3 separate regions of the Homo sapiens genome follow, and all the other regions are linked to region 1. The links are contacts of gene promoters, found by promoter capture Hi-C in human tissues and cell types (Jung and others, 2019). All regions are on one chromosome and are shown on one strand. The core of a region is centred on a gene start or on the middle of the fragment in contact, and the rest is flanking DNA. Distances in the headings are between cores, read along the strand shown.

Region 1 (2,989 bases), core at 88-2,587:
GCTGCTCCAGGGCCAGCACGATGCAGTTGGCGATGATGGTGGCCAGGATCATATACTCGAATGGAGTGCGTGAGTTAAGGACTGGCCGGCAGACGCCGCACGGAGGGAAACACGAGGCCGACGCCAGCAGAGCCCAGTGCAGCAGCCACCGCTAGGCCGTCTCCGGAGGGGCTGAGACAACTGGGTCCGGAGCCCCTCTCCTGGCGGAAGCGGCCTGGTCTCCCTCACTCCCTGCCCCCATCCCTAGGGGCGGCCGCGAGGCGGGGCCTCCGCAGTCTGGGCCGCCAGCCCCTCGGCACACCCGGGCGGCCGTCAGCACCGCGGACAGCGCCTCCGGCCCGGCTCCGCCCGACTCCAGGGCCCCGAGGGGAGGGGGCCGAGCGCCCCCAGGCGAGGCTGGAGGGAGACCCCGCGCAGGCGCACGCTGCTCCCTCCAGACACGCAGCCACATGTACCTACACAGGCACGTGAACATGCATGTAGCCCGCATCGCGAGCGCACGCACGCGCAGCGCCAGGCTCCAGCTCAGCCCGCACACGCAGGCACCTGCAGCCAGGCGCGCGCACGGCCGCGTCCCCACAGCGCTCGCACCTGCACGGACGCGGCTTCGCCCTCGGTGCCCTCCAGGCTAGCCGCGCACTGTGCACCGACCAGGATCCCCAGGACCCGGCGTGCGGAGGGACGAGTCCGGAGCAGAGGGGCTCCGCCCCGCGCCCGCCGCACTCACGGAAATGCTCCCGCACCCGCCGCTCCGAGGGGCCCTGGGGCGCTCCGTACCCCCCTCGCCCGTCTCCCGACGCCTCCCCAGGTCGCGCCCTCCCGGCCACCGGGAAGATGGCCCCGGCCCCGGCCCCCACCCCGGTCCCCGCCCGGCCCCGCCCGGCCCCGCCCGGCAGGATATGGCCACTCGGTGATGCGCTTCGCGTATTTGCGGACGACGTTGTCCTCGCTGAAGACGAAGAGCGAGCGGTTGACGGTGAAGCAGTTCTGCTTGACCGGGATGGGGTTGTACAGCGCCATGGTCCGCGCGCGCTGCGCGATCGATTGCTTGTAGAGGACCCGCTGGCCGGGCTGCAGCCCCCCGGGACCCGGGCCCCCCGCCCCGCCGGCCCCGCCGCCCCGGGCCCGCTCTCCGCCGCCGGGGCCCCCATAGCGGCCGCCCAGCTCGTCCCCGAAGCGGACCATGGCTCCCGGGCCCCGCGTGCATCCCCGGCCCAGCGGCCCCGGCAGGGAGGGCGCGGGGCGCGCCAGGCGCTCAGAGCGGAGCAGCCACGGAGCCGCCGGGACCGCAGCGGACCTCGCCCGGCCCCACCGCCGCAGCCGCCGCCGCCTCACCCGACTCCGCGGCCCCGCGCCACGCCCTATAAGGGGCCGGTCACGTGGCGGGGCCCGGCCAATCCGCGCCGGCCCCGCCCACCCTGCCGCGCCGGCCCCGCCCCGCGGCCGCCCCCGCCCCGCCCCGGCCCCTCCGGCTGCGCCTCCCTCGCCCCGCGCCTCCCACCCCGGGGCTGGGCCGGGCCCAGGAGCGGACGAGCCTGTGGGTCCTCGACGGCCGCTCAGCGCCAGCCCGGGCCGTCCCCGGAGCCCACTCTGCCGGCCGCACCGCCCCTGGGTGCCCTCGGCTCCTCAAACTCGGCCCAGACGGACCCCTCGCTCCGCCCGGAGGCGCCACCAGCCCTGGGGCTGCAGCCCAGAGCTGGGCGCCAGGCCTGGGCCGGCCCGCCCCGTCCCCGCCGGGTCCCCGGCCTTCCCAACCCTCCGGGTGCGCTCGGCTCGCGGCCTTGGTGCCACGCGGACGCTTCTGTCGGGGGCCCCCAGCCCGGGTGCGGGACCTGCTGTTTCCACGCACGGGGCTGGCTCCGGGATCTCAGCTCAGAGAAGCCTCTGACCGCCTTGCAGGCCACGCCCCGTTAGGGAACCTGTCACGGTCACTGCCATTCCCCAGGCCTCCTTGAGCGCCCACCGCGGGCCGGGCCTGTCCTGGGCTCCCAGCTCTGCCCTCACGGAGCTGACCGTTTTGTACAAAGCACAGCAACCATTTACACAGCGCTCACTTCGTGCAGGCCCGTGGGTCCTCACAACCTCCAAAAAGGCGGCCCCGGGGTCGGGGAGACCTTCGGGAACAAGGGACCCTCTCGGACCTGAAGCTCGCTCGCAAGGCGCTGAGTGCAGAGTGAGGCCGGGTGCGGGCTGCGCCTTCTGAGAGGGAGGCAGTCCGCACAGTTCCGAGCAGAGGCGCGTAGGCCTCTGAAGGGTCCCTCGGGCTGCCGTGTGGAGTGTGGACTGCAGGAGGCTGGGGTGCTGAATCACTTAGGATGCATTCAGAGGCGAACAACCCGCTTCCCAGCTAGCAGCAGCTTGCACGATGCCATTGTGATCTCACTGAATACGAAGCCACCATCTCTCCTCCCTCCAAAATCCCCACATACACTTTCTGCCTTCCTGCCTGTTGCCTCATGCCCCAGGGTGGCTGTCATAGCACAGGGCATCACACCGCTACACCAGCATCTCAAACGGGAAGGAAGTGGCAGGTGTACAAAGGATGACCACTTTGTGAATCAGGTTACGATTTTCTTTTCTAACAAAGGAAAAGCTTCTCAGAGGCTCCCCCTGCAAGTGTCTCTTTAACCCCGTTAGGCCATGGGCCATGTGGCCGGCCCTGACTTTAACAGGGTGGGAAAGTGAACATGTGTCAAAGTGGACCAGGATGGCCAGCCCCCACTAGGCGAGCACATAGTTGCCCCAAACAAAATCAGGGTTCGCTTAGCTGGGAAGCAGGTGCTAAGGCTGTCGGGGAGGCTGCCAACTGGCCTGTCACAGAGAAAAATCAGAGCCCAGGGAGGGGTTTTGACAGCAGCACAGAGAGAGATGATGTGGTTTGAACATGGGGGCCATGAGCAGTGCCTCTTTCTCTTAGAGAGAGTGCGTCCAGTGTAAATGTGAAGGAGAGATAGAAACACAGGCTCTTCATTTTTGGTCTGAGTGACTG
Region 2 (2,796 bases), core at 144-2,643, 200 kb before region 1:
GGCAGGGTACCATGTCAGTTCAGCCCTGGGATGCACAGCCCTCAGTTCATCCAGGGCACTGATTCCCAGGGGTGGGGGGTGGGGACAATGTGCCACTTCAGCTCAGGCTTGGGGGATGTGACTGCTCTGGGTGGCCAACGCACCATTTCCTGGGATGCAGGGAACTGCTTCAACTTAAGACACTGGGGAGGTGTGACCGCTCTGAGTGGCCAAGGTACTGTTTTCCCAGGAGGCAGGGTACCACTTCAGCTCTGGCCTATGGGCATGGAGGGGAAGGGTAGGTGAAGCAGCTCCACCTCCACGTGGCCCCTCAGGGAAGGGTGTAACAGCTGCTTGCAGCTCAGCTTGGGGATGTCGGCCACCAGTCTTGGTTAGTTTGATGGCAGTTTTGCCTCAAGGATAAAGGGAAGCTGCGGCTACTCCAGGAGCAAGTCACACTCCCGCTCTAGTTCCAACTCCTAGGTAGTGGAACACAGTAGCCACGTGGGCCACAGGGGCTGAGCAGTGTTGGCTTTGTCTCTGGAGGGAGCACAGGTGTGTGGACCCCAGGCAGCTCCCTCAGCTAGGCTTAGTGCCTTGAGGACTGCAGGGGACCCGAGTGGTAGGGTCTGCAGGTGTCCGAGATGGTGATGGGGGCTGCTGGGATCCTCTTGCTTACCTCCTCACCAAAGGGAAAAGCTCTCCTAGGTCCCAGCTGATCCTAGTTGTGGGATGGGGTGGTGGTGTTTGCTTGGTGTTTCATTCCATTCTCTAAGTGGCCATCCCAAGTTTCTGTGCTCACCAGTGTCTCTGTTACACCTCTGATGTACTCCGAGACTCTCCCTCAGTTATTTTCATTAAAATGTAATTTTTTGTTCATTGTTCTGTCTTTTTGAGAAGGACAAGCACTAGGTGGAAGGTCAGCCATCTTGCTGACGTTACCTCTCATTTCTTAATTGGGTTGTTTTATTTTTGTTGTTGAGTTGTAGAAGTTCTTTATACATTTTGTTAAATCAAGTTTAGCCTAAAGCTGCCTCCTTATATATTTTAAGTTCAGCCTAGAGGCTTCTCTGTACCTAGTGAACTATAACCTAAATGGAAGTGTAAACAGACTTTGTAACCTATTATCACGCCAATCATCAAGTTTTGGCCAATCAAAGGGAGCTAACTGTTCTGTGTTCAAATAAGGCAAACGCTAAGCTGTAACCAATCAACTGTTTCTGTACCTCACTTCCATTTTCTGTACATCATATTCCTTTTTCTGTCCGTAAATCCTCTTCTGCCATGTGGCTGTGTTGGAGTCTCTGAGCCTACTCAGACTCAGGAGGCTGCACAACTTGCGAATCATTCTTTGCTCAATTAAACTCTGTTAAATTTAATTTGGCTAAAGATTTTCTTTCAACAATTCTGATATTAACCCTTTATCAGAAATGTAATTTACAAATATTTTCTCCAATTCCTTGAGTTGCCTTTTCATTCTGTTGATAGTGTCCTTTGATTCTAAAAAGTTTTTAATTTTGAGTAGACAAATTTATTTTTTCTTTTATTGTGATTCTGGTGTCAAATCTAAGACTCTGTTACTAAGTAAAACGTCATAAAGATTTACCCACTATGTTTTCTTCTAAGAGCTTTATAGTTATAGCTCTTACATTTAGTTATTTAATTTTATGTTAATCTTTGTATATGGTATAAGGTAGGAGTCCAACTCCACTCTTTTGTATGTGGATGTCCCGTTTTCCCAGCAAAGAGTGTCCCTTTGCCATTATATGGTTTTGGGCTTCTCTTTATTGGGAAGTTTTCGATTACTGATTCAATCTTCTTACTCGTTACAGGTCTATTCATATTTTCTACTTAATTCAGTCAGTTATGATAATTTGTGTCTTTCTAGGAATTTGTCCATTTCAAAAGCTTAGGTTCTAAACTCAGGCTAAGATATTTAACATCTCTAGACCTCCATTTCTTCATTGTAATAATAATAATACCAATCTCAGGACTGTCACAGAGACTAAAATACTTAATGTATTCATAAGACCCTGCATAGTGCCTGACTCAGTGATTATCAGCAGGCTGTCATGAACAACCTCATTCCCTATTCTTCCATCAGCACCCTCTATTCCAATTAATGGAACCAAATCCCAACCTAACGAAGTCCTGCCACCCATCCCAAATTCACAGTCCCATTTTTTCCATGTCACTTCTCTATCAGACCAAACCACATCCAAGTGTTTCAAAGCATGAGTTGCCCAGCATGTCCAATCTGTGAGGGAAGTGCCAGAAGGATTAGGATTACAGTTTCAGTAAGGAGACACCAGGGTTAGCCAAGAACCATGACTGAGGTCCATGGGGACAAGAACAAAGGACAGTGGCCACGAAATACCCTCTTCTCTGCACAGGAGTGATAGCTAAACCCAAGGATTCCTCGACTCATCCTGGACATGTCTAGTGAGTGCTGGCCCTGTACGTGGTGTGGTATCATGAATGTGGCTTTCTGTGGAACCCCATCTCTGCGGCCAGGTGCATGGTAAGGTCAGGCTAGTAGGTTTGGCTTTGTGCCCACAGGTGTGCTGGTTCTTACAGCACCAGATGTCTTTGAACAGTATAGAGACCAATGCCTCAGGAAAGTGATTCTCCAAAAAGCCCACCCTCCCTGCTGCCCACAAGGGGTCTTCGGAGGGATCAGGAGATGACTCAAACATGGAAATCCTTCCCTTGGTTTCTAGCAAGTAGTGAAACACAGTTTTGTAGGTTCTTCTGTATTTCTCTATCTAAGTGTAAGCTCACCTGTCTCAAGTGCACATCATTCCCAACCACCTCAAC
Region 3 (2,894 bases), core at 108-2,607, 250 kb after region 1:
CTAAAATGCCTAATTTTTGTTAATGTACACTTTGTCCACCTTCTCATGCCAATTCATGTCTCACATCCTTTAAGACCTAGACTATGTGTTGGACAAGAAGCTGTTAAAGGAAAAAAAAGACCTAGACTAACTCATCTTCCTCAAGGAACTTTTCCCCACACATGTGGCCGCAGCAATTGTGGCCATCCAGCAGCCTCTTCTTGTTTACTTTTAACTGACTCTCATTTCCTACTCAGTAATATTTGCTCTGTTCTATTATTAAATTTTGTAACATCAGGGATCAATCTCAAAACTTTGTATGTCCTCTTACAAATACCTAGAATTGCACTGCATAAACAGAAAGTGCTCAAAACAGCATCTTAAATATACTGTGATCAGAACCAGCCTATTACAACTAGAATACAGAAAGAAATCCACAAGCTTTTCCAGAATGAAACAGCAGCTCACAGTGATGTTCCTGGGAAAGTGGCCTCTTATCCAAGAGACTCCATTTCAAAGGAAATGCTACCTCTGAAGAGTTATAGCAGCCACTTTAGCTTTGTTTTTCAAAATCCAAAATCATCAGATTTTTTTTTAATACATGAAAATATTAAAAGTTAAAGAGAAGCAAAACAGTAAGAAAGGAGAATTCTCAGTCCTGGAAGTAATGCTTTCTATATCATACCTGCCATAGGCCAAATTAACTGGGCTCTAATAACTATTCTCAGCCGGGTGCGGTGGCTCATGCCTATAATCCCAGCACTTTGGGAGGCCGAGGTGGGCGGATCACCTGAGGTCAGGAGTTCGAGACCAGCCTGGCTAACATGGTGAAACCCCGTTTCTACTAAAAATACAAAAAACTGGACCAGGTGCGATGGCTCATGCCTGTAACCTCAGCACTTTGGGAGGCAGAGGCGGGCAGATCACGAGGTCAGGAGAGCGAGACCATCCTGGCTAACACAGTGAAACCCTGTCTCTACTAAAAATACAAAAAATTAGCTAGGCATGGTGGTGGGCGCCTGTAGTCCCAGCTACTTGGGAGACTGAGGCAGAAGAATGGCGAGAACCCAGGAGGCGGAGCTTGCAGTGAGCCGAGATCACGCCACTGCACTCCAGCCTGGGCAACAGAGCGAGACTCCATTTAACAACAACAACAAAAAAACTGGCCAGGTGTGGTGGCTCACGCCGGTAATCCCAACACTTTGGGAGGCCGAGGCAGGCAGATCACCTGAGGTCACGAGTTTGAGACCAGCCTGACGAACATAGAGAAATCCCATCTCTACTAAAAATACAAAATTAGCCAGGCATGGTGGTGGGCGCCTGTAATCCCAGCTACTCGGGAGGCTGAGGCTGGAGAATCGCTTGAACCTGGGAGGCGGAGGTTCCAGTGAGCCAAGATTGCACCACTGCACTCCAGCCTGGGCAACGAGAGCGAAACTCCATCTCAAAAAAAAAAAAAAAATACAAAAGCAAATAACTATTCCCTACCTGGTTTGCTGAGTGAGCAACTTAAAATCAAACTGCCCACTTACCTTAGGATAAAGTAATCCATCAACCATGCTTAATCCAATGAAATGATTGAAAAAAAAAATAAAGTTCCTAAAGAATCCAAAACATGATTCTTATAAGCCAAATTATTTTCAAAGAAAAACTCAATAAAATGTGGTCAAACCTACACAGCTCTTTCAGCACATGACAGGAAGCAGAAGAAGGAAACCAGGGCTCTAGCCCCACCTCTGGCTCTGGCCACGTGTGGGATCTCCAGCAACTAAGGTAGCCACAGACGCTCTTTTCGACATTAGAGCTGAGGCACAAACATCACCCTTGCTGGCCCTTACTATGACTCCAGAACCTTCCGACCACAACCAACAACTGACATAGTAAGATCCGAAGACAGGCAGCCCTTTTCATAGGACAGCTGTGCTTCTAGTTTACGGAAGAATCTGCTTCTCAAGATTTATGGAAAATGCTTCTCAGGCCAGCCACAGCAGTTCACGCCTGTGATCCTAACACTTTCAGAGGCCAAAGCGGGAGAATCGCCTGAGCCCAGTTGGAGATCGGCCTGGGCAACACAGTGAGACTCCATCTCTACAAAATGTTTTATAAATTATATTGTGTAATTAAAAATTAAATGTTTAAGTAATTTTAAAAAAAGAAAAATTGATTCTGATCCTCTCTTCTCTTAGCAAAAATCAATCAAAGACAAGAAAAGCAGGAAAGAGACACATAAACCCCAAGACATGTGAAATCCCTAAATAGAACACAAATAGGAAGACAGAGAGGTAGAGGAGAGCTAACCTATCCCACAGAGTAGAGGAAGGAGAAACTTAAATAAAGGAGTTGCAGCTGAGCAGCTGGCAGACTGACCCCAGAAAACACAGAAGGGTGGGGACAATGGGGGTGATGCCTGCAACTACAAAGGGGAATGCGGGCAAAACTCCACCTGAGAACAGCTGACCTCTCAGGTCTCCTCCTCAAGCAAGTACTGGTCTTCTGTAGCCACAAGACACCAGACGTTTAGCCCCATAAAAAGGTCCACCAAAAATGGCCGGGCATGGTGGCTCACACCTGTAATCCCATTATTTTGGGAGACCCAGGAGGGTGGATCACTTGAGGTCAGAAGTTCAAGACCAGCCTGGCCAACATGGCGAAACTCCCTCTCTACTAAAAATACAAAAAGTAGCCACACGTGGTGGTGCACAACTATAATCCCAGCTACTTGGGGGTGGGGGGGTAATGAGGCAGGAGAATTGCTTGAACCCAGGAGGCAGAGGTTGCAGTGAGCCGAGATCACACCACTGCACTCCAGCCTGGGCGACAAGACCAAGACTCTGTCTCAAAAAAAAAAAAAAATCCAGCTTATACCAGCAAGGCAAGAAATTGAGGGATCCTTCAAGAAAACCAAACCAGCAGAC

What was found. The method cuts DNA at HindIII sites, captures the fragments that hold promoters and counts their contacts. A contact is called where the count stands out against the background at its distance.
Region 2: a contact is called between a fragment that was not itself captured here and the fragment with the promoter of CACNA1B in region 1, in 2 of the 25 tissues and cell types used here (H1 embryonic stem cells and dorsolateral prefrontal cortex).
Region 3: a fragment that was not itself captured here is called in contact with the fragment with the promoter of CACNA1B in region 1 in 1 of the 25 tissues and cell types used here (dorsolateral prefrontal cortex).

What each region holds. Positions count from the first base shown.
Region 1 is chr9:137,876,130-137,879,118 of GRCh38, reverse strand. It overlaps CACNA1B (calcium voltage-gated channel subunit alpha1 B), which reads right to left and starts at 1,337. Exons shown (of 47, transcript NM_000718.4): 1 at 902-1,337; 2 at 1-65. The coding sequence starts at 1,185. All of the region lies in intron 2 of CACNA1B-AS2 (CACNA1B antisense RNA 2), which reads left to right. RefSeq lists an enhancer at 229-1,144. The HindIII fragment of the contact is 23,600 bases long and covers 1-2,989 here.
Region 2 is chr9:138,080,855-138,083,650 of GRCh38, reverse strand. The region is part of intron 36 of CACNA1B (calcium voltage-gated channel subunit alpha1 B); the gene reads right to left. Among named protein-coding and RNA genes, the nearest start is that of FAM157B, 130 kb to the left of the region's middle. The HindIII fragment of the contact is 7,824 bases long and covers 1-2,796 here.
Region 3 is chr9:137,627,641-137,630,534 of GRCh38, reverse strand. The region is part of intron 1 of EHMT1 (euchromatic histone lysine methyltransferase 1); the gene reads right to left. Among named protein-coding and RNA genes, the nearest start is that of EHMT1, 10 kb to the right of the region's middle. RefSeq lists an enhancer at 1,913-1,972. The HindIII fragment of the contact is 8,247 bases long and covers 1-2,894 here.